7 separate regions of the Homo sapiens genome follow, and regions 2, 3, 4, 5, 6 and 7 are each linked to region 1. The links are contacts of gene promoters, found by promoter capture Hi-C in blood cells and fetal thymus (Javierre and others, 2016). All regions are on one chromosome and are shown on one strand. Each heading gives the region's core, a stretch centred on a gene start or on the middle of the fragment in contact. The rest is flanking DNA. Distances are from core to core; before and after follow the strand shown. Region 1 holds the start of METTL9 (methyltransferase 9, His-X-His N1(pi)-histidine). Region 2 overlaps USP31 (ubiquitin specific peptidase 31). Region 3 overlaps COG7 (component of oligomeric golgi complex 7). Region 4 overlaps USP31 (ubiquitin specific peptidase 31). Region 5 overlaps UBFD1 (ubiquitin family domain containing 1). Region 6 has its middle 4.0 kb from the start of USP31. Region 7 overlaps USP31 (ubiquitin specific peptidase 31).

Region 1 (3,623 bases), core at 594-3,093:
GAGATAAATCGCTTTTTCTCCTATCCAGGACCTTATTTCTATCAACTGCTTAAAAATGTTAAAAATGACATTTCTAATTCATTGTCTACCCCATTGTTCCATATGTGACATTCTGGTAACTGTACAGTCAACGGTACAGTACCTTTGAGTTGTCTCTATAAGAATGAACTAGTGTAAGCAAATAATCCATAGGAATAAATGTGGTTTTGCAATTTAAGTTTACATACATTCCTAACCATATCATACAAGTGATCAATGATACTGATATTGCACCTAACAAACTGCAATGGCTGGAGGCTTTCAAAAAAATTTACAGAAATTTAGGATTCCTTTAACAATAGAAAAAAGCCCAATATACATATTACTAAAGACTAAATGCTACTTTTCTAAATTGCTCTATCTCCTTCTTAGACAATTCTCTACCCTCATTAAAACACATGAAATCAACCTGGGTGTAAATTCTCTGAACACCTGGCATAATAAAAAAGTAATGTAGGAAAATGAGAAATATATGAAAATGATGAGACACAAGATGATATAGGGAATAATTAATACTCTATGGAAAAGCAAAATGTATTATAAATGCTAGCTATGACAAGCCAACACTCTGGCAGAGTTCAAAAGCCTCTTTTCAATGAATTTAACATTAACTGCAAACTATGTTAAGGTCATATACGAAATATCTCACTTAATTCTACAGTTAACCTGTACACGTTTAAGTGGCGCAAGACTGAGCTAATGAAAAGCCTACCTACCCGGTCACAGCGTAACGCTCACGATGCATAACTAAAACTCCCTCCCGTCCCGTTCTGTTTTAAAAACCCTTCCTGTAAAACTTGCATAATCTTCCTCCTCATCACACACAATCTTTCTAGCAGGCTGACTAAATCCAAGTTTAAAGGAGATCTCTGCTAGGTAGGAGGGGAAGGTTCCGTAGGATGGGAGCGACAACCTGTCAAACCCATTTTTTAAGTGCTTAGGGAGAAATGTCACCCCAATCAGCCTGGAGAGTTCAATGGCTTGCGATGTACAGTTACATTTCTTCACGACCCTTTGTACGTTCTGGGATTCAACGAGACAACAAGAGGGGCTGGCTTTTCGTTTTGTTTCTCGGGGTAATGGATCTGGCCGGGTCTCTTCAGTCTCAGGCCTCGGTGCCAGGCGGGCGCCCCCAGCCACGCTCTGGCCCCAAAGTTCCCCAGTCCCGCTGCCGGGCGTCCGCAGTCACCGCCCGGGACCCAGGAACAATGCGGGGCTCCGGGCCGCTCACGATCGGGCCCGGGAGGCCATGCCCCGCCTGCGCTGCGGAACAAAAGGCGCTCGCGGGGCCGCGGCCGGGTGCCCGGGGCTCGCGGAGTCGACGCCCGGCGGGGAAGGCGCGGGGAAAACTTTCCAAGGGGCCGAGGCGGAGGGGCGAGGGCCGGGCCGCCCCCTCGCGGAGCCGTCCCGCACAATAGCCGGGCCCAGCGCGGGAAGGCCGGGCCGCCACGCCCCCGCCCCGGCCCCGGCCCCAGCCCGTACCTGGTGGTTCTCCTTCCTGCCGCCCGCGGCCGCCGCCGGCCCACCCGGGCCGCTAGTCATGTTCACGTACAGGGAGCGGGTGAGCGGGCTCCGCAGCGTCCACATCCTCCGCGCCAGCCACACGGACGCCAGGCTCAGGCACAGCCAGCCCGCCAGCAGTCTCATCGGGGGCCGCGGCCGCTCGCTCGGATCACCGCCGGCGCCGGGGCGAGGAGGAGGAGGCACCGCCGCCTCCGGCCACCGCCGCCACCGCCCGAGCTCGAGCCATCGCGGCCGCCTTGCCCATCCAGCCCCCTTCAGGGCAAAGGCTGGGGGTGGGGAGGAGCAGCCGGCGCGCAGCCTCGGCACCTCCCCCTTCCCTTCCGGCCGCGGAACGCCGCTGCCCCCTGCACCAGTTTCCATCCGGAGCACTTACGAGCGGCCGCGTCGCTTTCTCCCCCGGCGCCCTCCCTCCGTCCAATGAGCGGGCCGCTGGGAGGCGGGACAAAGGGAGCGCGCATCCGCCCGGAGCGCGTTCTCGTGTCCCGGCCCTGCCTTGGCCTCTAGTAAATGGCGGAGGTGGTTTTAATTTTTTTGAGGGCTGAGGAGATCACTTCCGAAGGCGGTAACTGCAGCCTCCCTGCCCCTCCAAGGTGGTGCTGGAAGGACCTCCAGTCTTTCCTCGCCTCATCCCACTCCACGGCGGGACTTTGACAGGGTTACCTCTCGACCCTCATCCCACTCCACGGCGGGACTTTGACAGGGTCGTGCAGTTAACCCCGGGGGCGCAAAGAGGGGAGTCATTCCTTTCGTGCATCCTGACACACACAGGTTCTTCCCGGAGACGAATGGTGCCAGTGATGGTTGCCCGCTCGGATGCGTAGTTTCCAGTTTACATTTAGAACCGACCTGCCAGACTCCCTCCTCTACTCTCCCCACCACCACGACCCGCCTGCCCCGTTCCCCAAGCCTGAGAAGTTGCTGGCTACGTGTTTCTATAAAGAATGAGTGAAAATTCTGCCTTTTGGGGAAGCTACCGCAGCTGGGGTACCCACAAGTAATGTTTTAGATGTATTGATGGCCCTGCCCAAGAATGAAGACCTCAAGTTAGACTCCTTGGCTGCCTTGTTTCCTTGAATTAGCACAGGGAAGTTGGACCCAACACTCTTAAGAGTGAACTCAGCTCTGGGAGCAGTGTTTAACCCGGATATTTATTTGATCATTTATAACACGAGGAGACCTAGCAACATTTCAGAACTGAAGGGTTAGTTACACTGTGTTCCTGTCTGCAGTTCTTCCTGCTATTATCCAAGCCACAATTAAGGAGTAACATTTCGTGGGAGTCCCTAACTTTAATACTTTCCTAGGTTTGTTTGGAAAGTGCTTTTAATTTAACTGCACCAGAAATAATGTAAATGTGTCTAAGTTCAAAACAAAAGAAGTAAGCCTTTTGGTTAATTCAGCGTTGCACATCAGAGATTTTCATTTATGAAACAGTGGGGTGGTGAGCCACAGATGGGGAACAAAATCATTCCTTACCCAACAGCTTTTTTTTTTTTTTTTTTTTGAAACGGAGTGGAGTCTCGCTCTGTCTCCAGGCTGGAGTGCAGTGGCTCGATCTCGGCTCACTTCAAACTCCGCCTCCCGGGTTCAAGCAATTCTTCTGCCTCAGCCTCCCGAGCAGCTGGGACTACGGGTGCGCGCCACCATGCCCAGCTAATTTTTGTGTTTTTCGTAGAGACGGGATTTCACCATGTTGGCCAGGATGGTCTCCATCTCTTGACCTCGTGATCCGCCTGCCTCGGCCTCCCAAAGTGCTGGGATTACAGGCGTGAGCCACCGCACCTGGCCCAACAGCTCTTTCATTAGCTTTTAAGAATCTCAGCTTGGCACCTTTGGCTAACAAGGATATCTTGTTGCCTAATGTAACAGGCTGTAACAACAAACAAAAAGGCACAGGGTGGGTGGGGTTCGGTATTTTGTGTTCTCTCTTTCCAATATACTCCCTGACTGCTTCCTGCCAAAACCCCGAAAAGCCCAAGCCTTACTAAATCTAGTTCAAACCTCTAGTGGTCCTGGCCCAAGTCATCAAAAAGGAACTATGGTAGCAAGTCCAATAACTG
Region 2 (3,628 bases), core at 321-2,820, 1.5 Mb before region 1:
CCAAACTGTTTTCCACAGGAGCTGGATCATTTTACGTTTCCACCAGCAATAGATGAGAGTTCTAATTTCTCCACATCTTTGCCAACATTTATTTTTCATCTTTTTGATTTTAGCCATCCTGGTGAATGTGAAGTGTTACTTCATTGAGGTTTTGACTTGCATTTCTCTAATAGTAAATGATGATGAACATCTTGCCATGTGCTTGTTTGGCCATTTATATATTCTCTTTGGAGAAATGTCTATTCAAGCCTTTTTCCCATTTTAAATTGCATTATCTTTTTGTTGAGTTGTTTTTGTTGAGTTGTAAGAATTCTTTGTAAGGATGTATAATACTAGACCCTTATGGGATATATGACTTGCAAGTATTTTATTCCATTCTCTGGGTTTTTTCTCTTTCTTGATAGTGTTCTTTGACGTACAAAAGTTCTTCATTTTGATGAAGTCTGTTTTTTCTTTTGTTGCTCATAATTTTGTCGTCATATCTAAGAATCCGTCACCACATCCAAGGTCATAAAGATTTACTCTTGTGTTTTCTTCTGAGTTTTGTAGTTTTAGCTCTTACATTTAGGTTGTTGATACATTTTAAGTTAACCTTTATAAATTGTATGAGGTAGGGACCAAACTCCATTCTGGGACAAGTAAATATTTACTTGTCCCAGCACCATTTGATGAAGAGATTGTACTGTCCTCATTGAATGGTCTTGGTGCTCTTGTTGAAAGTCCTTATTTTAATTCCTCTTTTACTTTACCCTCTACTTCCAGAGGCCTCTGGCACCTCCAGTTTCTGATTCTTTCGGTGATCCTGTATATTGGGTTGGCCAGCTTTCTCCAATGCCAGCTTACAATTCAGTTTTCTCTGGTCTACTCATATTTACAATATTTTCTAGATAGTCTATTATTTCACTTATTCTTCTTTGACCCAGGTGCTTGTTTGTGTTTCTTTTCCAGTTGTTACGTTTCCCTGTATGTGTTTTTGTTTGGATTGTTTCTAGTTTTATTGCATTACAGTAAAAAATACCTAAATTATCTTGTCCAGAGAGCCTTTCCTCACTCCCTTTACCTGCAGGCTGGCTGGCGAACTCCTGCTCTTCTGGGCAGTTAACTTCTGTTAATCTCTCACACCAGCGTGTTATGTGGAAATGATTTGTTTTCTTCTCTGTCCTTCCCACCACACTGTGAAGTTCTCTGGAGCTGGGGCCACATTTTGCTTTATCTTGTTATACCCAGCAGTGCAATATAGTTCTTAATATGCAGCAAGAGCCCAGGTAATGTTTGTTCAACTGAAAGTTTCTCAAAATCCTGTTCCCACCCCAGTTGCTTAGGGTTAACACTAAGCTTCTATTTATAAGTGAATTTGGTGAATCCAAAGGTTATTGTATTCTAGCCAGAGACTGCCTTATTGAGTCTGCGTTAGCCTCTATCCTAAGGCCTTAACAGATGTTTTATTCAATATATAATGAGGCTACTGCTTTCCCCACATTACTGGTGAGGAAGCTGAGACTTGGAGATGAAGTAACCACTCCCAGCTCACACAGCTGGCAGTAAATGGGTCCACAGTTTGAACACAGAGCTTGATTTCTGTGCAGTTGACAATGTGGCATCCCCTTATCTCGTCAGGAGTCCACATCTATTCTAGGAGAACAGATCTTCCCACCCTTACCTCTGCCAAGAACCTGGGAAACGAGTTTATTGTCTCAACTTCAGATATCTATTATTTTTATTTTCTCATACCAGAGTTTAAAATGGTTAGGAAGTAAGATCTACTCCTGTTCCTTTTGTGATTTCTTTATGGTGTTTAAGCTTAAAAAGTTTTCTTCCCTCTAGTGGCTTGACAAAGATTCAGCTTTTTTCTTATTTCTAGTTTGTATGTGTTGTTTTTTTAAACTCTATCTGGAATTTATATTGGCATTAACTATGTACTTTGTCATTTTAAATTGTTATAATGTTGAGGTATCTTAATAGGTTCAGTGAGTCTTAGATTGCTGAGTATTGAGGTTATTGCCAGCATTCTGCTATAAATACTTTTGTGTAGGCCATTTGTATTTTATTCTCTTTCTGGTGGTATTATTATTAATGGTGGTGGCAGGAGGGGTTTCTTCTATTTTCCAGCTGGGATGTCATTTCCCTAGGCTGTGCTTCCAAAGGATTAAAGGAATGAACAGGTAGTCAGGCATTTATTGGGGTTGTGCTGGGTGCTGAGTTGCTGGGTACTTTGATTGACAGGGAGCTCTGCTTTGGGGCATTTGGGAGGATCAGTACTGTGCCTGTCAAATATATATTTTTGTTAACTTTAATGTGGATTGATCCAGTCTAGTAGACTGTATTCCAAGTTGGAAGATTCTCCTGATGGCTCTGAGTCTAGTAGGTGTAGTGTGTAATTTACCTTTTATTTCTTATAAGTCTGGCTCTTTAATCAGGGAGAAGAAACTGCTATTGAATATTGAAGAACATTCCACATCTTTATTTTTTAAAAATTTGTTTGATTACTGGTTGCATGACCTCACTAAATTTTCTTGGTGAATCATCTCAGCACACATGCCCTTCTAAAACTGTATCTAACCTTCACTGAAGTGCAGTTTTAATTTTCAGTTTTTAAGATAGGTAAGGCTAGTTTAAAGGAAATAATAATGGATGCTAAAGAAATTCTCTAACGGCTAGATGAGTAATCTAAGTAGGATGTTTCTTTTTTTGATTGCAGTTTAATTTACATAATGACATTTTTAAAAAAAATTTTCTCTGTTGGGTAAATTTCTTCATAACGAGTGAATAAAAATAATTTTGAAGAGATAAAATGAGTTGTTTTTATTCTGTTTCAGGAATTCATTTAAACAACAACCTAAACCACTTGAAATTTGGCTTGGATTATCATAGACTGTCTTCTCCTACACAAACAGCAGCAAAGCAGGGGAAAATGGATTCTCCCACATCAAGAGCAGGCAGCGACAAGATTGTCCTGTTGGTGTGTAACCGAGCCTGCACTGGGCAACAAGGGAAAAGGTGAGAACCAGATTATTTTCCAGTAAGTACCTAGACTGTAACAGTTCAGTATTTTCAAACATGTTAAAAAGCATGGGCAAAAAGTTCTTACTTTTAGTAGTTAATTTTTGATTCTGATATTTAGAAAGAATACATGTACAAGTTGACCTGATTTGGGGGGTTGGTCGGGGGAGAGTAAAATTAGGAATCTGGGGTTTTTTGTTGTTGTTGTTGTTGTTTGTTTGTTTGTTTGTTTTTTGATATGGAGTCTCGCTGTGTTGCCCAGGCTGGAGTGTAGTTGCGCGATCTCGGTTCACTGCAACCTCTGCCTCCCAGGTTCAAGCGATTCTCTTGGCTCAGCCTTCCGAGTAGCTGGGATTATAGGCGCCAGCCACCACACCCAGCGGATTTTTTATATTTTTAGTAGAAATGAGGTTTCACCATGTTGGTCAGGCAGGTCTCAAACTCCTGACCTCAGACGATCCGCCCGCCTTGGCCTCCCAAAGTGCTGGGATTATAGGCGTGAGCCACTGCATCTGGCCAGGAGTCTAGTTTTAAAAGTCCCATTTCATATGTGTATTTTCAGTTCAGGCTCCTCTTGGGGCTCTAGACCCATTTCCAGCTACTTTCCTGACAGCTTTTTTATTTTTAT
Region 3 (3,632 bases), core at 1-2,500, 1.8 Mb before region 1:
TGTAAATGGTGATTCTTGCTTTGGGAAGGTGGTCACTCTCGTAAGGGCTTTAGAACAGCACGGTGTTTTGGGAGGCCAACCATCACTCAAGATTCTGCCCAGCACTCCAGCTATGCTCTTTTTTTTTTGAGACAGAGTGTCGCTCTGTAGCTGGAGTGCAGGCTGCAGTACAGTGGCGTGATCTCAGCTCATGGCAACCTCCACCTCCCAGGTTCAAGCGATTCTCGTGCCTCAGCCTTCTGAGTAGCTGGGATCACAGACGTGCAACACCATGCCCGGCTGATTTTTGTATTTTTAGTAGAGACAGGGTTTCACCATGTTGCCCAGGCTGGTCTGGAACTCCTGGTCTCAAGTGATCCTCCCATCTTGGCCTCCCAAAGTGCTGGGATTACAGGCGTGAGCCACTGTGCCTGGCTCCCCGAAACTATGCTTTTGCTTGGGTCTTTCAGCTGGTTCATCTCTTCAGCACTGCTGAATAAATTTAGCCAGATGATTGGTGTTTTGGGAGACAGAAGCTCCCTAAAGACAGAAGCAAGCCACCATACTTACATTTCAAGTCCCTGGTGGCAGATGGAGAAAAAGGACCTACCCCTTCATTTTTCACCCCTCACGCCTCTTTCAGGTGTTGGTAGAAATTGACCAAGTGAAGTCCAGAATGCAACTTGCTGCCGAATCTCTTCAGGAAGCAGATAAGTGGAGCACGTTGAGCGCCGATATTGAGGAGACATTTAAGACTCAGGTAGGTTTCTTGTTTAGGGGATGTTATGAAAGGTATTTAAGCAAGAACTTGAGGTTTGGAGAAAGCAAAAGAGATACAAAGTTGATAGCCAATAGCAGCATTCAGAAACCTTCAGACTCAGGGTGGGGAAGATCTGAAGCTGCTCGGTGTGTTTCCAGCCTCTTTAGCTTGCACCCTCTGTGTGACTGAAGCCTCTTAGTCACAGAATGAGTTCAAGAGAAGCCTTGATAAAGATGTACAGGCACCAGGCACTGTGGCTCATACCTGAAATCCCAGCTCTTTGGGATGCTGAGGTGGGAGGATCACTTGAGGCCAGGAGTTTGAGACCAGCCTGGGCAAAATAATGAGACCCCCGTCTCTACAAAAAAATTAAAAAATTAGCCAGGTGTGGTGCTGCACATTTGTAGTTCCAGCTACTCAGGAGGCTGAGGTGGGAGGATCTCTTGAGCCCAGGAGTTGAAGGCTACAGTAAACTATGATCATACCACTATGCTGAGGGACAGAGCAAGACCCTGTCTCAAAAAAAAAAAAAAAAAGAAGAAGAAAAGAAAAACCAGCACAGGCAGAGAAGGTTGGGGGTAAATGGACGAGAGGGTGGAACATGGGGAAAGGGGAGCCTTATATACCTTGGGGACTTGGTGGGTTATTGACCCCTTCTGAGGCTGCAAAGTGTGGAAAATAGTAACATTTTCCACCTGGGATGTAAGGATGAAGTAAGATGATGTCTTATGAAGAACTCTTACTCAATTGTAAAGCAAAATGAATGATTTATCAGTCAGTTTTTTTAAAAAGTTACAAATGCACATGGGAACAAATTTATTACACAGGAATAAACTGCAAAAAATAAGTTTTTTTCCTAACCCTGACCCCCACCTTAGTCCTCTAATTTTTCTTTTTTTTTTTTTCTTTTGAAACGGAGTCTCATTCTGAAGCCCAGGCTGGAGTACAGTGGCATGATACCTCCACTTCCTGGGTTCAAGTGATTATCCTGTCTCAGCCTCCCGAGTACCTGGGATTATAGGCGCGCACTACCATACCCGGCTAATTTTTGTATTTTTAGTAGAGATGGGATTTCACCATGTTGGCCAGGCTGGTCTTGAACTACTGACCTCAGGTGATCTGCCCTCCTCGGCCTCCCAAAGTGCAGGGATTACAGGCGTGAGTCACCATGCCCGGCCGGGGGCTAATTTTTCTTGTGCGGACAAGCCCTGTTATCAACTTTATGCCCATCCTTCCAGATATGCACATACATATTTATGTTCCCTGCCCCTTTTTTTCCTCACAAAGCTCATTGTGAACACTGCTTTTCACTTTATTTTTTCACTCAACAATCTATCTTTTATTTATTTATTTATTGAGACAGAGTCTTGCTCTGTTGCCCAGGCCGGAGTCCAGTGGCATGATCTCGGCTCACTGCAAACCTCTGCCTCCTGGGTTCAAGCGATTCTCCTGCCTCAGCCTCCCGAGTAGCTGGGATTACAGGTGGACGCCACCATGCCTGGCTAATTTTTGTATTTTTAGTAGAGATGGTTTCACCATGTTGGCCAGGCTGGTTGCAAACTCCTGACCTCAGGTGATCCTTCAGCCTTGGCCTCCCAAAGTGCTGGGATTACAGGGGCGTGAGCCACCCTTCCCGGCTGCCTGACCAATTTCTTAAAATGTTTTGTAAAGACAAGGTCTTGCTATATTGGTCAGGCTGGTCTTGAACTCCTGGCCTCATGCAATCCTCCTGCCTCAGCCTCTGAAAATGCTGAGATTTATAGGTATAAGCCATTGTGCCCAGCCTGGATGTGAATATTTTTAAAACTCTTAGCACATATTGCTAAATTGCCTTCCAGAAAGACAGTATAAATTTAAATTTATGATACCAGATTGTCTTTTTTCTTTGTACCCTCACCAACAATAGCTATTATAATTTTTCAAACACTTTTCCAATTTGTTAGGAGGAAAATGACACTTTATTGTTTTAATTTAATTTGCATTTATTTGAGTACAGGTTTTTTGTTTTTTTTTTGAGACGGGGTCTTTCTCTGTTGCCCAGGCTGGAGTGCAGTGGTGTGATCTTGGCTAACTGCAGTCTCCACCTTCCAGGCTCAAGTGATCCTCCTGCCTTAGCTTCCTGGGTAGCTGGGACTACAGGTGCGCATGACCACACTCAGCTAATTTTTACTGTTTGTAGAGACTGGATCTTGCCATGTTAACCAGGCTGGTCTTGAACTCCTGGCTTCAAGGGATCCTCCTGCCTCAATCTCCGAAAGTGCTGGGATTACAGGCATGAACCACCACGATGCCCAGCCCCATTTTCATACTTGATGAGTTGCCTTTTCATGTATTTTATCTATTCCCAATTGAGGCAGTAGGGATCATTTAAAATAAATATTCTCTATTCTGGTCTTTTCTAGGACATAGCTGTGATTTCTGCCAAGCTAACAGGTATGCAGAACAGCTTAATGATGCTTGTTGATACACCAGACTACTCAGAAAAGTGTGTGCACTTGGAGGCACTGAAGAACAGGCTGGAGGCCCTAGCCAGTCCACAGATTGTAGCGGCATTCACCTCTCAGGCTGTAGGTGAGTGCTAGCTGCTTCTCATCTCTGTGTATATCTCTCTATAAAGATAAGGCCTTGTAAGTCTTCAGTTTTTAGAATGTCTTAATGGTGATTGAATTACATAGATTAGAAGGAACTCTGTAATTTTTTTTTTTTTTTTTTTTGAGACGGAGTCTTTCTCTGTCACCGAGGCTGGAGTGTAGTGGCGCAATCTTGGCTTACTGCAACCTCCACCTCCTGGGTTCAAGTGATTCTCCTGCCTCAGCCTCCCGAGTAGCTGGGATTACAGGCGTGTGCCACCACACCCAGGTAATTTTTGTATTTTGAATAGAAACGGGCTTTC
Region 4 (3,830 bases), core at 71-2,570, 1.5 Mb before region 1:
GGCTCATCATTTCTTGCACCAGATCTGGAATTAGTCATTTCCAGATACTGGAATCAGGTTCCTTTGGTACAGCGGTACTGAGAGACCACAGTTGAGGCATGAGGGATGCACATGGTTTCTAAGAAAGGAGTGATTTCTTTTAAAGCTAAATCATGAATTCACATTGATTATTCCAATACAGGGCTTCGGGGTTTTATTGACCCTCATTGGTCTTGTATCTGTGGCTTGTTCCTCCCATGCTGAAAATCCTACTTGTAACACCAGCGTAAATTCTCATTTGCCTTATCCCACAGTATGCTCCTAAGTCTCAGAATAATAATCCCAGTACTGCCACCAACAATGTTAGTATTTGAAAATGGCTTAAGACTTATTTGGTAGTTTTTTTGTCCATAGCATATATTCTACTAGGACCGTATGGTACAAATTACTGTGTTTTAAAGTTACTTGGAATAGTTCTCTATGTGGTTTTGTCATCACTGGATATATAGTTAATATTAGTTGTTTCGGCCAGGCGCGTTGGCTCACGCCTGTAATCCCAGCACTTTGGGAGGCCGAGGCGGGTGGATCACGAGGTCAGGAGTTCAAGACCAGCCTGGCCAAGATGGTGAAACCCCGTCTCTACAAAAAAAAAAAAAAAAAACTACAAAAATTAGCCAGGCGCAGTGGTAGGTAGGTGCCTGTAATCCCAGCTACTTGGGAGGCTGAGGCAGGAGAATCACTTGAACCCAGGCGGCAGAGGTTGCAGTGAGCTGAGATCGTGCCACTACACTCCAGCCTGGACGACAGAGTGAGACTCCATCTCAAAAAAAAATCAGTTGTTTCTTTTTTAATCTTTTTTAAAATGAGGTTTTCTTTTTTTTCTTTGAGATAGAATATTGCTCTGTCGCCCAGGGTGGAGTTCAGTGATGCGATCATAGCTCACTGCAAGCCTACCTCCCAGGCTCAAGTGATCCTCAGTCCCTGGAGTAGCTGGGACCACAGGTGCTCACCACCATGCCCAGCTAGTTTTTTATTTTTTGTAGAGATACTGTTTCACTATGTTGCCCAGGCTGGTCTCGAACTCCTGGGCTCAAGCAATCATCCTGCCTTGGCCTCCCAAGGTGCTGGGATTACAGGAGTGAGCCACCACACTAGTCAATTTGTTTCTTTTTTTGCTTTTGATTTTGATAGATTGGTTCCTATCCTAAATTTGATTTTGTTGCATCATAATTATATTAAAAAATACAATATATGGCTGAAGTCAAATCTGCAAAACAAGATCTATTCAGAAATCTAGCTCTGTCTCTGATCCTTCCACTCTATTGCCTTTCTCCCTAAATTTTATGATTTATTCTTTCATTGTTTAAATATAAGGCAGTATGTATAGGTATATATTAATATATGTGTGTATTCATATATGGGTGTGTATTCATGTTCTCTCTTATTTAGATAAATGGTAGCACACTATGGATAATTTTCTCCTCTTGCTTTTCTTCGTGTCGCTAACGTATGAGTGCTTATCACATGCCCTGCACAGTGGATTATTTTATTTGCTCCTTATAATGTTGTAAGGTAGATGCATGTGTTACAATTTCTGTTTTATAGTTGGAGACAGAGGTATTTCTGTGTAGACCTTTACTTCTCTGAGTCCCTTTTTTATTTCTTTTTTTTTTTTTTGAGACAGAGTCTTGCTCTGTTGCCCAGGCTGGAGTGCGGTGGTGTGATCTTGGTTCACTGCAAGCCCCACCTCCCGGGTTCACACCATTCTCCTGCCTCAGCCTCCCAAGTAGCTGGGATTATAGGCGCCCGCCACCATGCCCAGCTAATTTTTTTTTTTTTTTTAAGTAGAGACGAGGTTTCACCATGTTAGCCAGGATGGTCTCCATCTCCTGACCTTGTGATCCACCCGCCTCAGCCTCCCAAAGTGCTGGGATTACAGGCGTGAGCCACTACGCCCAGCCTTTTTTTTTTTTTTTTTTTTTTAAAGAGACAGGGTCGCTCTGTACCCAGGTTAGAGTTCAGTGGTGCGATCACAGCTTACTGCAGCCTCAAACTTGGGCTCAAGCAATCCTCCCACCTCAGCCTCTGTGGTAGCTGGGACAACAGGTGCCTGCCACCACTCTCAGCTAATTAAAACTTTTTTTTTTTCTTGTAGAGACAGATTCTTGGTATATTGCCTAGGCTGGTCTTGAATTCCTGGCCTCAAGTGATCCTCACGTCTCGGCCTCCCAAAGTGCTGAGATTATAGGCATGAGGCACTGTGTATGGCTGCTATGATTCCCTTTAACCCCCATAGTAACTAGTCGTGACCCTTGTGTGCATATTCATGAGCAAATGAATGAGCAGGGAATTAACTTCTCTATTTACTTTACTTTGAGCAATGATGGGAGCAGAGAAAGGCTGTTTCCAAACTCTAGAGAAGGAAATTCAACGCTTTCTTTATTTGAAGGTTATGGCTCTCTGTAGCTGGAGAAGAATAATAGTAAGAACTTATTCCCTGACCAGAGTTGCTCCCAGTAATTACACAGATACATTAAGTTGGAAAGTTCTTTAATCTTCTAAAAATAAGAGTTCCTTTATAACAGTACAGTGACAACTTGGTAAATCTTCCTCATTTTAGAGTCTTTGTGTCATGAAAGTTATAATAAACTAGGGTAGCTAAGGAAAAGGACAAACTCCTTTAAAAGCAACAGCTCGTGGAAAATATCTACTAGTTAATGATTTCACAATTTTAATAGTGACAGGAAGAAAGGAGAGTAGCTTCATTTCCCTTCAGATGGGAAAGAAAGGAGTATTGGCTGCTTTTTATTTTATATCCAGCTGGAGGAAGGGGTTAGTTACCCTTCAGGCTCTATTGTGATGTCAGGCAGCTGGTTAAGCTGTTGTAGCTGCCCCCACCCCTTCCCGGATTCTGTCAAGCTTCAGAGGGTATTGCTGAGGGAGGTGGAGGGCATCCAGGGTCAGAGGCTACTCTTTTCCTTTTGAAAATCTGTGAGCCTATGAGTTTTGAATGTAGTGAGACTCCTAGTGCAGCTGAGATCTTGGGCAGGTCACTGAGCCTCAGTTTCCATATTTTCCTTTTCATTGCCACATAGTAATACCATCCTCACAGATCGTGGTGTTTAACAACCATTGACTCCTTTACACCTGAGTGGTGAAAACATTTTAGCAAGAACAACCAACCAACACACCAACCAACCCAGCCTGTGACAGCAGGTCTGGGACATAAGAAAGGGATGCTGGTAGGAGAGAGGTGTGGAAAGGATCTTGCAAAATATCACCATAGTTAAGTGCTGATGAGAAGTACGTTCCACCTCTACACTTTCACTGGGTCTAGCTTTGCAAGTCTGATTGTTTTATAGCTTGCCTTTGATGCGTAGATACTCTAGGGTTTTTTTTATTTTCTTATTTTTGTGAGACAGAGTCTCGTTCTGTCACCCAGGCTGGAGTGCAGTGGCATGATCTCAGCTCATTGCAACCTCCACCTCCCGGGTTCAAGCAATTCTCCTGCCTCAGCCTCCCAAGTAGCTGGGCTTACGGGCACCCACCACCACACCTGGCTAATTTTTGTATTTTTAGCAGAGATGGGGTTTCACCATGTTGGCTAGGCTGGTCTTGAACTCCTGACCTTCGGTGATCCACCCATCTCAGCCTCATGCTGGGGTTACAGGCATGAGCCACCATGCCCGGCCATGATGCTCTAGGTTATGACCACTTGAATTTCAGACTGTTTTAGAAGAGGTGGTATTTATTTATATCTCCAGTGTTCTAGTGCTGGATGACTCACTGACGAGTATGTCCCGGAGAGGGCACTCACTTCTCAGTATGATACATTCTGTGCCATTGTATCG
Region 5 (3,980 bases), core at 216-2,715, 2.0 Mb before region 1:
CTGGGAGGGCGAATATGTTCGTACCTGTGCTAGCCACTACCTACTGCTGTGACTATTACACACTTGAAATGCAGCTACTATGACTGAGGAACTGAATTCTTAATTTCATTTTAACCAGCCACATGTGGATAGCTACCATATTAGATATCAAAGTTCTACAGCAAACGGGATTTCCAGATTGCCCTCCTCCCCTCAAAAAAAAAAAAAAAAATCACCACTGAAATGATTAAACCATCAAACTAAAGAGGGCGACAAAGGGTGTTGCTCTCCTAGCAGACAAAAAATGGCACCCACCTTTTTCAACTTAAACTTCCAGAGAACACTATAAGATGCTGGTAATCCGTCTAACTGCCTAGGAGGAGCAGTTCTTCAACAAATGGAGACCCAGCCCATCGCCGAAGTTTTCCCCACTGCCCTACCCTTAACTCCAGCTAAACAGGAACCTGGAAGAGCCACCTTTCAGAAAGAAATGCTTATTACTCTATAACCTGACATTAAGAAGCCTCTAAACTCCACCCCTACCACCTGCCCCAAGAACTCTGAGGCAGCTCTTCAAGGATTCTAAGTTCAGGGCCCCTTAAACAGTTCTCCTGCCTGGCCCAAATGCCTGAGTCTTCTTTCTTCTCCATCTGTGGCCTTATAGGCATAGCCACTGCTTGGAAGGCTGGAACTAGGGGACAATGAATGGATAGAAGGTAACAATTTAATCAAATGTAAGCACTAGGCAGCCACAAGCCAGCCCAAATCCTCACTGGCATGGTGGAATCCCTCTGGGAGGAATAAACTCAGCACTGCCAGACTGCTAGCAAAAAGTCACTCCAGACATCACCCCCAGACCCCTTAATAAGCTGGTAAAAAGGCAAGGGACTATATCCCTCTCATTAGGTCATGTGATGCATCATAATTGGCCTCAATGAAACACAGCAGCATGGGCTGGAAGTACAATTCGAGTCACACCTTTCAAGTACCTTTTGAACAAGATTTCCTGTACTGTGGAGAACAGTTCTAAGCCTGTTAAGCTACCATTAGTAACTAAAAACCTGTATTTAGGAGGCATGTTATGCTCCAAGGGTGTGACCATTGCGACCACTCCTATCTGACGTGCTCACATTTCACTATTTCATACATGTGGCAAAGAAAAACAGGAATATGAGAAGAAACTCAATCGGTTTCAAGACACTGAGACCCCATATGTGGGGGTGAAGTCTCCAAATCAACACCTTTTAGATAATTAATATAGGTTTATAACCCCTTATCTGAAACCCTAGAGTTTTGAACTTTCAGGGTTTTGGAATTTTTATAAAGATAATATTGCTTTCAAATACATAACAATCTTCTCTGTGGGGTCTGGGGCAGTACCTTGTCACCAAAGAGGAAAATTCACACTAATTCTGGTCAGGTTTTGCTGTTAAATTTATAAAAACACTTCTCGTTTTTATACTCCTTTGGGGTTTTGGAAGCACACATGGGGGATTATGGATCTGTAACACAAACTGTGTCCTTTTCTTACTGTTGGTCATATATCTTAGTGTCTATGGTCACTAAATGATGTTGATTGAAGTTTATCTACTCTACTTCAGACACAGTTGAGAATACCTGTCTTCCTTGGAACACTAGGAAGAACGATCAGGAGGCTACACAGCAATCAGTATAATTTGCCAGGTAAAAAGATAACAAGTAATGATTCTTACAACCTGTTCCTTCCATAGTAAAATAATCTCACTTTTCCTCGTTACGTGAAAGAATGTTAATGGCTATGATGAGCACAAGACAAGGCAGGATCTCTTGCAGCCAAAAGAACAGAGAACGTAAAAAACCAAGCTCCTATTTCACAGATCAGGACAAAAAAATAAATAAACAAATCCATCAGTGTAGTTGTCTTCCTACTCAGCTTCATTTAGCTTCCTGAAACGGTCAGCTTTAGGGGAACCTCCGAGAGTTGTTGATTTCCATGCCTAGCCAGGCTTGTTGACTTGGGGAAAGCCACAAACCAAAAAGCCAAATGTAAGCACTTGTACAAAATGAGGGCTTACTTCTAGTACTGGTAGTTTTCTCTGGCACTAAATAAGAGAGAGAAACCCACGTCTGATTCCTTTCAACACATGGTCTGAAGCCTCCCTTTACCAAGGTCTTATCCTAAAGTAGGTAGACTTGAGACACACTGACCCGCCAGATGAGACAAAGTTGCAAATCTCAGGTAGTTGTCACCTCCACTCTGCGGCACCCAACTGCTGCCATAAATTTCCATCATGGGCCCTGTCCAAAAAGGAGCTTATTCTAGGGAGAATATAACCAGCCACGGCTCAAGAGGACAAAGCCTCAAATTTCTCAAGACCAAGAAGCACAAGATGGACTCACTTTCTGCCTGCAGAGAGGCTCCTTCTTGTTCTCTTCGGCCTTTGCATCCTGCTGCGCAGCATCTTTGGGTGTGTTTACTGCTAAAACATCATTGATGGTGGAGCCAACCACCATGATCTTGGCCCCACTGGTCACTTTTATTTCTCTCAATGTTTTATCCTCGGGGACGAGTCCCTTATACATGACTTTCTGCATGGCAGGCGGGAGACCTTGGGAAAAGGTAGAAGGTGGACAGTGAAAGGAAGGAAGGACAGAAAAATGTATGGATACTACACAGCTCTTTGGTAACAGACCAAAAAGTGAATACTGCCTCCACCACCTATTAGCTTTGTGAACTTGGGAGATTTACAACCTCTGAACCTCAGTTTCTAGAACTGTAGAAGATTTATTAGAGTAAGTCCTTCTGTACAGACCTGTTTCAAGGATTAAGAGACCAATGCGGGGCATTTAGTACGGTGGCTAGCATTGAATAATTGTTCAGTAAGTACTAGCTCTCATTCTTTCCAAGTTGTTCCTCAGTCATCTAAATCATTCACATATTAAGTGAGAATCCACAGGCATCAGAGCTACAGAAGCCAATAGGGACAAAACTCCTGTTCTTAATGGAGATTACAAGGCTACATGTAGAAAGCTTTAAAAAAAAAAAAAAGTTCAAGGCCAGGAGTGATGGCTTATGCCTGTAATCCCAGCACTTCGGGAGGCCGAGGTGGGTGGATAAAATAAAAAAAACTAGCCCGGCGGGGTAGCGGGCACCTGTAATCCCAGCTACTCGGGAGGCTGAGGCAGGAGAATCGCTTGAACCTGGGAGGCGGAGGCTGCAGTGAGCCAAGATGGTGCCAGTACACTCCAGCCTGGGCAACAGAGCAAGACTCCGTCTCAAAAAAAAAAAAAAATAGGAAAAAGAAAAGAAATCTCAGATGGCAAAGAGCTATGAACAAGGTAAAATTAAGAAACAGAATCGACTGTGAAGAACCAGCATCAAAGTCAATAGCAGCGTTTCCTAAACTTCACTTAGAAGAATTACCTAAGATATTTGCTAAAAATAAATTCCTGGCTACATCCCAGACCCACTGAATCAGAATCTCCTGGGAAAGGGCCCAGAAGCTGTAAAACAAGCGCCTTAGGTGATTTTTTAATTAGAGATGTTAGAGCAACATCAATGAGAAACTGGGGCCTAAACGTCAGACTTCGGCTTTAATCCCAGCTCTGCAACTTACTAGCTCTATAAACTTGAGTCTCTTTCCCCAGCTGAGTAATGGGCATCCAAGTATCCTTCAGAAGACTGCTGTAAGGATGGGGGGACCTGATGCAAGGAAAGCCACCAGGTGCCTAGTAGGGTGCAAGGGCCATCAGGAGGCGGGGTGGGGAAGACTGGCTGTCAGCGCCACAGGAATTACCTGTAATCGAGTGGATCTTCTGTTTCAGCTCGGAGCCTGTGCTGTCCAGGGGGAACTTCACGTCATGCTTGGTCTTATTCCAGATGATCTTCAAGTCCACCAGCTCCCTGCCCGCGCCGCCGCCCGCGTCTTCGCCGTTGCTGACCGAGGCCTGGGCTGCGGGGTCCCCAGGGGGCTGGGCCGGGGCCGGCTGCAGGCTGCCTCGTGCGGCGCCGGAGTCCTCGG
Region 6 (3,938 bases), core at 472-2,971, 1.6 Mb before region 1:
ACGATGGGTATACAGGTCAAAGGAGAAAAATGCAAAGGCTCATCTCTGTTGATGCCCAGAAGGCATTTGATAAAATTCAAGACCAATTCCTGATAATAACCCTTCCTGAAGTAGGAATACATGGATACCACTTTAACGCAATAAATAATATATATCTCAAACCAAAAGCAAGCATGCTTAATGGTAAAGCACTGGATGAAATGCTATTAAAGGCAGAAACAATGCAGGCTTTCCTACTCTCCTTACTATTACAGACAAAATTCTGGAAGGGCAATTAGACAAGAGAAAAAAAAAGATGAGGTACAACTATTATAAACAAAGTGGCGAGGTTTTTATCTCATGTGTTGATATAAATTCCTGAGAAACCCAATAGGATCAACTGAAAATTATGAGAAAGAACTAAAGTACATCAAGGTGGCTGGTTACAAAAATATTTTTTTTCCTGTAGACAAACAACAGAAAATATAATGACATAAAATATCCCATTCATAATAGCAACCAATAGGAATAAACTTATTAGTATTATGCAAGACCTATGGGAGGAAACTATAGTACTGGGAGGGGCATTAAAAGCCCTTGTATAATTTTTTGAAGACAGACTTTATTCTCAGATGAGAAGATAAATATTGTGGTGATGCCAGTTTTCCCTCACTTAATCTATATAAATTAACCCCCCTAAAGGATTAAATTCATTTGAGAGAATAAGCAAACAGACAGATAATAAAATACTAGGAGATAATGCTCTATCAAACATTTCAGCATATTCTAAACCTATGCTATCCTGGAATACAGAGGCTTATCAATGGGATAGAACAGAATTTTTAAAAATCTTAAATATACGGGGCATTTAATAGGTGATAAAAGCAGCATTTTAAAGTAGTGGGAAAATTACATTTAAAAATGGTGCTGAGACAATTGGCTAGCCATGAAGCATGCAGAAAAGGCAAGATCCCTATCTCATTTCTCATGCAAAAATAAATTCCAGATGGAGAGCATAATAATAAGAAAAAAACCCAGAACTGCACTAAATTAAAATACAGATGAATATTCTTATGATCTTGGAGTGGGGGAAGGCTAAGTATGTCAAAAATATTGTAAATCTTTATGAAAAAGACTAATCTGTTTCACTATATAAAATAATTTAGGCTGGGCTTAGTGGCTTACACCTGTAATCCTAGCACTTTGGGAGGCTGAGGCGGGTGGATGGCTTGGGTGGGTGGATGGCTTGACCCTAGGAGTTTGCGACCAGCCTAGATAACGTGATGAAACCCTGTCTCTGCTAAAAATACAAAAAGTTAGCTGGGCGTGGTGGCATGCACCTGTAATCCCAGCTACTGAGGAGGCTGAGGTGGGAGGATCGCTTGAGCCCGGGAAGTCAAGGCTGCAGTGAGCCATGATCACACCACTGCACTCCAGTCTGGATGATGGAGTGAGACCCTGTCTCAAAAATAATAATAAAATAAAAATAATAATTTAAGTTCTGTATATGATATGAAAACACTGTAAACATGGTTGAAAGGGAAGTAGGGAATGGTATAGACTGAAAAATAATATAATTTATATAGAAAATAATTTTATGGACCAGGTGTAGTGGCTCATGCCTGTAATCCCAGCACTTTGGGAGGCCAAGGCAGACGGATCATTTGAGGTCATGAGCTCAAGACCAGCCTGGCCAACATGGTGAAACCCTGTCTCTATTAAAAATACAAAAATTTGGCTGGGCGCAGTGTCTCACGACTGTAATCCAGCACTTTGGGAGGCCGAGGCGGGCGGATCACGAGGTTAAGAGATCGAGACTATCCTGGCCAACATGGTGAAACCCCGTCTCTACTAAAAATACAAAAATTAGCTGGGTGTGGTGGTGCGTGCCTGTAGTCCCAGCTACTTGGGAGGCTGAGGCAGGAGAGTCGCTTGAACCCGGGAGGCAGAGGTTGCAGTGAGCTGAGATCGTGCCACTGCACTCCAGCCTGGCGACAGAGCAAGACTCTGTCTCAAAATAATAATAATAATAATAATAATAGTACAAAATCAGCTGGGCGTGGTGGTACATGCCTGTAATCCCAGCTACTTGGGAGGCTGAGGCACGACAATGGCCTGAACCCAAGAGGCAGAGGTTGCAGTGAGCTGAGATCATGTCACTGCACTCTAGCCTGGGCGATGGAGTGAGACTCCATCTCAAAAACAAAACAAACAAACAAAAAACTTCTACGAGATAATATCTATAAAGGAATACACCGAAAAGAATAATGGGCAAATGGTGTGTGCAGGTGAATCACACCAGTAAAAATAAAATCGCTAATTAAAAGGTATTCCTAGTTGTTTTCTTGATTGCAAACAGCAGAAACTGACACTGGTTTGTTTCCCCAATAAAGGATTTACAGGAAACCTATCAGGTTAGCTCACAGAAAGAACAGAGCCAGAGAAACAGGCTTGGGCAGAAACCCAGGGACACAGACACCAGTAAGAACTTGCCACTAGAGTAGCAGCTGGACACTTGCTGCTACCACCCCCACACTGTACACCACCGTACTGCCACACTGCTAAATATATAGCTGCTAGATTCATTAATTCACTGCATTATCTCCAACGAACCGTGTATCAATACTTCTAGAGCCAAAGTCTAGGTAGGAACATATAGTTGGTCTTGCTCTGTCACCCAGGCTGGAGGGCAGTGGCACGATCATAGCTCATTGCAGCCTCCACCTCCTAGGCTCAAGTAATCCTTCCGCCTCAGCCTCCTGAGTAGCTGGGACTACAGAAGTGCACCACCACACCAGGCTTATTTATTTATTTTTTTAGAGACGGGATCTCGTGATGTTGCCCAGCCTGGTCTCAAACTCTTCCCGTCTCTGTCTGCCTGTGCTGAGATTACAGGCATGAGCCACTGCACCCGGCGGTGGTCTTTTTTAGGTCATGTTCCTGGGCTCTAGCTTCCAGGGGTAGGAAGGGGAATACCTGCTCCCTGCCACCCTACCCAGTTTTCATAGTGGGATCTTGAGTGGTCCTGCCTAATTTGGTATCCCTTGCAGACAGGAAGTTGGTTGAGATGTTGGATAGCAGAGAGACTGGCACATGATGTTCAACCTTACTCATACAAACAAAAAGTGCATTAATATGCCATCTTTTGTTCATCAAACTTGTCAATGTGAAAAAGACTGGAAAACTCAACAGTATGTTGGGATTGGGAAATGTGCATTTCCCATTAGTTGCTGACAGGATAAAACCTTTCTGGGGGTCAGCTTGACAATAGGTGTCATATATGGAATACGCATACCCTTTGATCCAAGGTTTCAGCCTAAGGAGATAGCTACATGATGGACAAGGTATAGGTCATGATAATATTCACTGCACTGTTGTTTCTAATTTACGTTTCCCGAGCTTAGGGGTAAGGGGTGGTACAGAGAGGGACAATGAAAGATTCACTACAGAATGTTCAAGGTGAGTCTTTAAGAATGATCATCTGAACATTCCAATGAGGAATTTTTTCAAGCCTGTGTCAAACTTTGAGGCTCAGTGGAGACCTATAAGACCTGTAAGCTTAGTGAGAGGGGCCCAGACTGGGAAGGCAGTTCTTAGGTATCCCACCAAGAAGTTCAGATATTGTTTAGAGGCCGGGCGCGGTGCCTCATGCCTGTAATCCCAGCACTTCGGGAGGCTGAGACAGGTGGATCACTTGAGGTCAGGAGTTCGAGACCAGCCTGGCCAACATGGTGAAACCCCGTCTCTACTAAAAATACAAAAATTAGGGCAACACGCTCGGGTCCCCTTCTACGCTGTGGAAGCTTTATTCTTTTGCTCTTCACAATAAATCTTGCTGCTGCTCACAAAACAAAACAAAACAAAAAACAAAAAACAAAAATTAGCCAGGTGTGCTGGCAAGTGCCTGTAATCCCAGCTACTCAGGAGTCTGAGGCAGGAGAATTGCTTGAACCCAGGAG
Region 7 (4,027 bases), core at 165-2,664, 1.5 Mb before region 1:
CTTTGGTGTCTTTTTTTTAAAAAAAAAAAACCCTTATTGCTATTTTTTCGTGTTTTTGTTTTGTTTTGTTTTTTGTTTGTTTTACCATTAAGTAATACACATCCCAGAATTTGGCACTCTGTGTTAACTGTGGAGGCAAATAAAATTTAGTTTTAATCTGTGGTGAGCTGAATGCACTACAACACCTTCGAAGTAATCTGATGGTTTCATTCTGTCGAGCCTCATGCTGCCTACAAAACACCACAATTTACCTGGTGTTTTCAACATTTTAAGGAATGAAGATACAAGTAGACATGCAAGTTGGAAATGTTTCTTTAGAAAGGCCATCCAGAATAATGATATCTGTTGCAGTCGTCCAAATGCAATATGAAATTTCCTAGGTGCTATTATAAACGGTGTGGTGTCATACCAAATGCAAAAGCAGTTACAGTATTTCCGAAGTTGGAGTTCTCTTTGTAGGCCTTTCAAATACGTGTTTGCATTCCATAGAGGTCTGCTCACCAACTGTGCCTCTCACCACTGGTTAAAATTGAATTTAAGCCTCATTGACATAAGTCGTTTCTTGATTGAACTCTTCAGTTTTTACACTGGAATTTCTGTAGTTGTCTTGAAAGCTGCATGTCACATCACTGTACACAAAGTGCTTTGGTATTACTCATGCACCGTGGATAGTGATTTCTGTGTCGTTTTCATTTTCAGTTGTACAGTAATATGGAAGGCAGGATGTCTTTCCTAGAGGCTGGAAGAAAAGTGTATCGTACATTTTAAATTTATTTTAGAACAAGTGCATGAGATGTGTCACTGATTTCTGTTATTTATTTGTATGTTTTATTATTCAAAGTGTATGCACTTTTAAGAAGCAGAATTTATATTTTTACGTTTGAAACGTTTTATTTCTGAAACAGCGTTGATTATATAGTATACAGTTGGAATTAAGAGAAAAGTGGAAAATGTAACAAAATACAATAAATTTATTACAAGATGTCCTCTTCAAGCCACATTTCTCCTTTCTCCCCCTTGCCAACTGATATCTTTTTGGTGTTGACTATAATAATAATTGTACTGCATCAGTCTTTACAAAATGCCTTAAAATTGCAGTGTTTAAAACACAAGTTACAGAAAGATGTATACATATGTTTTCTGTGTAAAAGTTTAAAACAAAAAATCACATCCATGCTTGTATAATTTTCACAATCAGGGATGGTTCTTCCCATTTCCTCCATGACGGATTAGAGACAGTTTGTCCTGGGCCATGGAACTGGACAAAAACTCACATTCTGGTTCAATCCAACAGATTTTCAACATTTCGCATTATTTTCCCCCTCTTACCAAACTTTTATGATGGGAAGAAATAGCAGTATAAAAGGGGCCATTCTTCCTGCGCTGTCTCATACCCTAGATATTTAATATTTTTGATACAAACAACATTTTTCCAGCTGTCTTTCCCACCCTTCAGGACAGAACTCCCTACTGAGGATGTCACATCACCTATGGCCACGTGGGGGCACTAAAGATCTCTTATGCATTTTAGAAGTCCAGCCTGCAGGTGGTTAGCCTCTGAGTGTGGAAATGTTTATTCAGTATGAGTTGGGGAATACGGTATCAGTGAACAGGGGTTTCTGTTTAGGGGAGTGCCACCAGCCATCATTTGTTCCCGGAAAGTGTTGAGTACAGATCAGGACAGATCTTGTTTCCCTAAAGCACAGCATTATGGTTTAGGGTTGGGGTGGGGGGAGTTGATGTTCCTGACAAGTGTGAACCACATGCCGTGCTAGGTACAGCACTTCTGAAGCTCTCTAATTTGAAATGGTAAGATTTCGCTTAGGTTCTGTTAGAGAGTTTAACCATGTAGTACGCTGATTATTCAAGAGGCTTCATTATGCCACAAAGTGTTCACATGTCATAAAATATGTAGATTTAATAGTTATGCAGATATTTAAGGATCATTTTGCCTGTCTCCTTAGGATTTGGAAGATTATCTTTCAATACTTGAATGGTCAACGTCTCTCTGAATACTTTTCGGGTCCCTGTAAATCTTCCTGAAGAAAGCAAAGGTGTGATAACACCCCTTGCCCAGAGCTGCATGTTCCTGTGTGTTAAACTGCCCCGTGGGTGATTCTAGGCCACTCTGACTCCGTGGGATGTAGCTTGAGGTCCTCCCCCACCCCAGTATCCCCTTTCTCCCAGCTGGGTTCTGTGTCATATGTTCTAATTCTGTGTACATCATCTAACATAACGTTGAACGGTTAATCACTTCGATTTACTAATACATTCACTTTCCATTGCTCTTCACTCCTTCCTGGGTTCTCCCAGATGGATGCTTCAGGTTTCCTCTCTGCGACCCTGTTCCTTTCTCAGGCTTCTCCACGAGGGTCATCTGGTAGATTTCACCTTGCTGGGTGGGTTGGGTCTACCTTCTGCAAACCCCTCTGGAATTCGGTCTTGGTTTGGTCTGGTCTTAGCTACGTTTTTCACCCTCTGCCAACACCTGCTATACACAGAGGACAGGGCTGTCCTCTCCCTTGGTGGTGCATTTTTGCATGCCATATAACCCAATGGCCTTGCACTCGTTTCTTAGAGCTTTCAGGGATTTGATATCAGTTTGACTTGCTCTTTGGATGTCTTAACAGCTCCATTTTTCTTGTGAAACGTGAGAAGATGGTGCAAATGAGACTGCAGTGCCTAGTTGGAATCAGGCCTCCCTGCCCCCGGTGGGGTCTCAGGGATCTTGCATTCCAGCACACCACCCCTGTGCCTTCCCTTTGTTTAGGAGGACTCCAGAGAGGCCCACAGTGCACAGATCCAGTTCCAGAGACACAGGGAAAAGGGTGTAATACGTCTTTCCTCTCCGAGAGTCTGGAGTGGACAGTGTGTGGGGATTGTGCACTGGGGACTGAGGATGAATGGCACCAGCCTCAGGGTTCCAAGTCCACAAAAGTTGTGGTGAGGAAGGTGCCCCTTTACTGTTTCACTCAGAATCGGAGTCCAGGTTCCTTCATTTAGTAATGTCTTCTGTGTGCCCAGCTGCTGGGGTTATGACCACACTTGGAGGGGCTCACCTGCCAGTCAGGAGGTCAGGTTGGCCAACAGATAACGTTTCAGCAAGTTTGCCACTTATTCCCTGCTCTTTCTCAAGGCATCGTCCCTAGAATGCTCTTCTCCGAGATGCCAGCCTGGCTCATTCCCTCATCTCCTCCACATCTTTACTCACATATCACCTTATTGAGGCCTTCCCTTACTACCTTTTTAGAACACTGCAACCTGCTTCACACGCTGTCCGTACTCCCTATTTTATTTTCTGCATATCACTTATCACAACTACCATAGGTCATATGTGAGCTGATGGGTGAGCTTACATGAGAGCGGGGAGGTTTGCCTGTTCTATTCACTGCTCTTTTTCTCAGCATCTAAGAGGGTGCCAAGCTTATAGCAGTTACTTAGTAAATACATACTAGCTGAATTAGTAATCTGCCTGAGTCTTTCTATCCAGAAGATGGAGGATACTGGTACTTGCATCATAGAGTGGTGAGAGTTAGATGGGAATGATGCCTATAAAGCCTTCAGCACAGTGCCTGGCACAGAGAAAGCGCTGGCTGAATGGAGCCATTTGTAATGATAACAATAGTGATGAGGAGGAGGGGCCGACCCTCCTGGGGTCAGAGGAGGGGGCAGTGGGCCATAACTCACACTTTCCAGGCAGGGGAAACTGCTTGCACTCTCTGGAAACCCTGAGTCCAGTCTTCCTGGAATGTAGGGCAGGAAGGCAAGAAGCGTTGGATGAAGGGGGCGGGAGATCCCATCTAGGGGGACCTTTTATGAACTGCTCCATTTGTCCTGTAGTAAATGAAAATCCAGGAAGAGATTTTAATTTAGGGGAGAGGAGATCCAGTTTGCACCTTCGCATGGTCACCATGACAAGATGTGTCATGAGAGAGCCGGTTCGGAGCTGGTTGCAGGAGTCTGGGTAGAGTGTGCGGAAGGGCTGACCGAAAGCAGTGCTGGGTGGCTGGAGAACAGGGAGACGCTT

Evidence for each region. The method cuts DNA at HindIII sites, captures the fragments that hold promoters and counts their contacts. A CHiCAGO score of 5 or more calls a contact.
Region 2: a contact is called between a fragment that was not itself captured here and the fragment with the promoter of METTL9 in region 1, in 2 of 17 cell types (total CD4 T cells and naive B cells). The highest score is 6.2, in total CD4 T cells.
Region 3: a fragment that was not itself captured here is called in contact with the fragment with the promoter of METTL9 in region 1 in 2 of 17 cell types (neutrophils and erythroblasts); the score reaches 5.2 in neutrophils.
Region 4: a contact is called between a fragment that was not itself captured here and the fragment with the promoter of METTL9 in region 1, in 1 of 17 cell types (total CD4 T cells). The highest score is 5.9, in total CD4 T cells.
Region 5: a contact is called between a fragment that was not itself captured here and the fragment with the promoter of METTL9 in region 1, in 1 of 17 cell types (neutrophils). The highest score is 5.3, in neutrophils.
Region 6: a fragment that was not itself captured here is called in contact with the fragment with the promoter of METTL9 in region 1 in 2 of 17 cell types (fetal thymus and non-activated CD4 T cells); the score reaches 5.8 in fetal thymus.
Region 7: a fragment that was not itself captured here is called in contact with the fragment with the promoter of METTL9 in region 1 in 4 of 17 cell types (naive B cells, naive CD4 T cells, total CD4 T cells and 1 more); the score reaches 11.6 in naive B cells.

The regions. Positions count from the first base shown.
Region 1 is chr16:21,597,797-21,601,419 of GRCh38, reverse strand. It overlaps METTL9 (methyltransferase 9, His-X-His N1(pi)-histidine), which reads right to left and starts at 1,843. Exons shown (of 5, transcript NM_016025.5): 1 at 1,522-1,843. The coding sequence starts at 1,686. It overlaps LOC101927814 (a long non-coding RNA gene), which reads left to right and starts at 2,035. Exons shown (of 3, transcript NR_110930.1): 1 at 2,035-2,764. RefSeq lists an enhancer at 564-1,128 and a silencer at 1,237-1,856. The HindIII fragment of the contact is 7,148 bases long and covers 1-3,623 here.
Region 2 is chr16:23,089,993-23,093,620 of GRCh38, reverse strand. USP31 (ubiquitin specific peptidase 31) reads left to right here. Exons shown (of 16, transcript NM_020718.4): 7 at 2,817-2,997. Among named protein-coding and RNA genes, the nearest start is that of USP31, 58 kb to the left of the region's middle. RefSeq lists an enhancer at 1-25. The HindIII fragment of the contact is 465 bases long and covers 1,338-1,802 here.
Region 3 is chr16:23,442,155-23,445,786 of GRCh38, reverse strand. COG7 (component of oligomeric golgi complex 7) reads left to right here. Exons shown (of 17, transcript NM_153603.4): 3 at 623-739; 4 at 3,142-3,310. Among named protein-coding and RNA genes, the nearest start is that of COG7, 9.2 kb to the left of the region's middle. The HindIII fragment of the contact is 7,262 bases long and covers 1-3,632 here.
Region 4 is chr16:23,124,453-23,128,282 of GRCh38, reverse strand. All of the region lies in intron 1 of USP31 (ubiquitin specific peptidase 31), which reads left to right. Among named protein-coding and RNA genes, the nearest start is that of USP31, 23 kb to the left of the region's middle. The HindIII fragment of the contact is 3,160 bases long and covers 1-2,900 here.
Region 5 is chr16:23,558,055-23,562,034 of GRCh38, reverse strand. UBFD1 (ubiquitin family domain containing 1) reads right to left here. Exons shown (of 7, transcript NM_019116.3): 2 at 3,756-3,980; 3 at 2,359-2,567. Among named protein-coding and RNA genes, the nearest start is that of UBFD1, 2.3 kb to the right of the region's middle. RefSeq lists a silencer at 3,886-3,980 and an enhancer at 3,423-3,980. The HindIII fragment of the contact is 3,053 bases long and covers 1-2,991 here.
Region 6 is chr16:23,151,460-23,155,397 of GRCh38, reverse strand. No RefSeq gene overlaps it. Among named protein-coding and RNA genes, the nearest start is that of USP31, 4.0 kb to the right of the region's middle. The HindIII fragment of the contact is 3,636 bases long and covers 1-3,539 here.
Region 7 is chr16:23,058,373-23,062,399 of GRCh38, reverse strand. It overlaps USP31 (ubiquitin specific peptidase 31), which reads left to right. Exons shown (of 16, transcript NM_020718.4): 16 at 1-994. Among named protein-coding and RNA genes, the nearest start is that of USP31, 89 kb to the left of the region's middle. The HindIII fragment of the contact is 4,022 bases long and covers 1-3,425 here.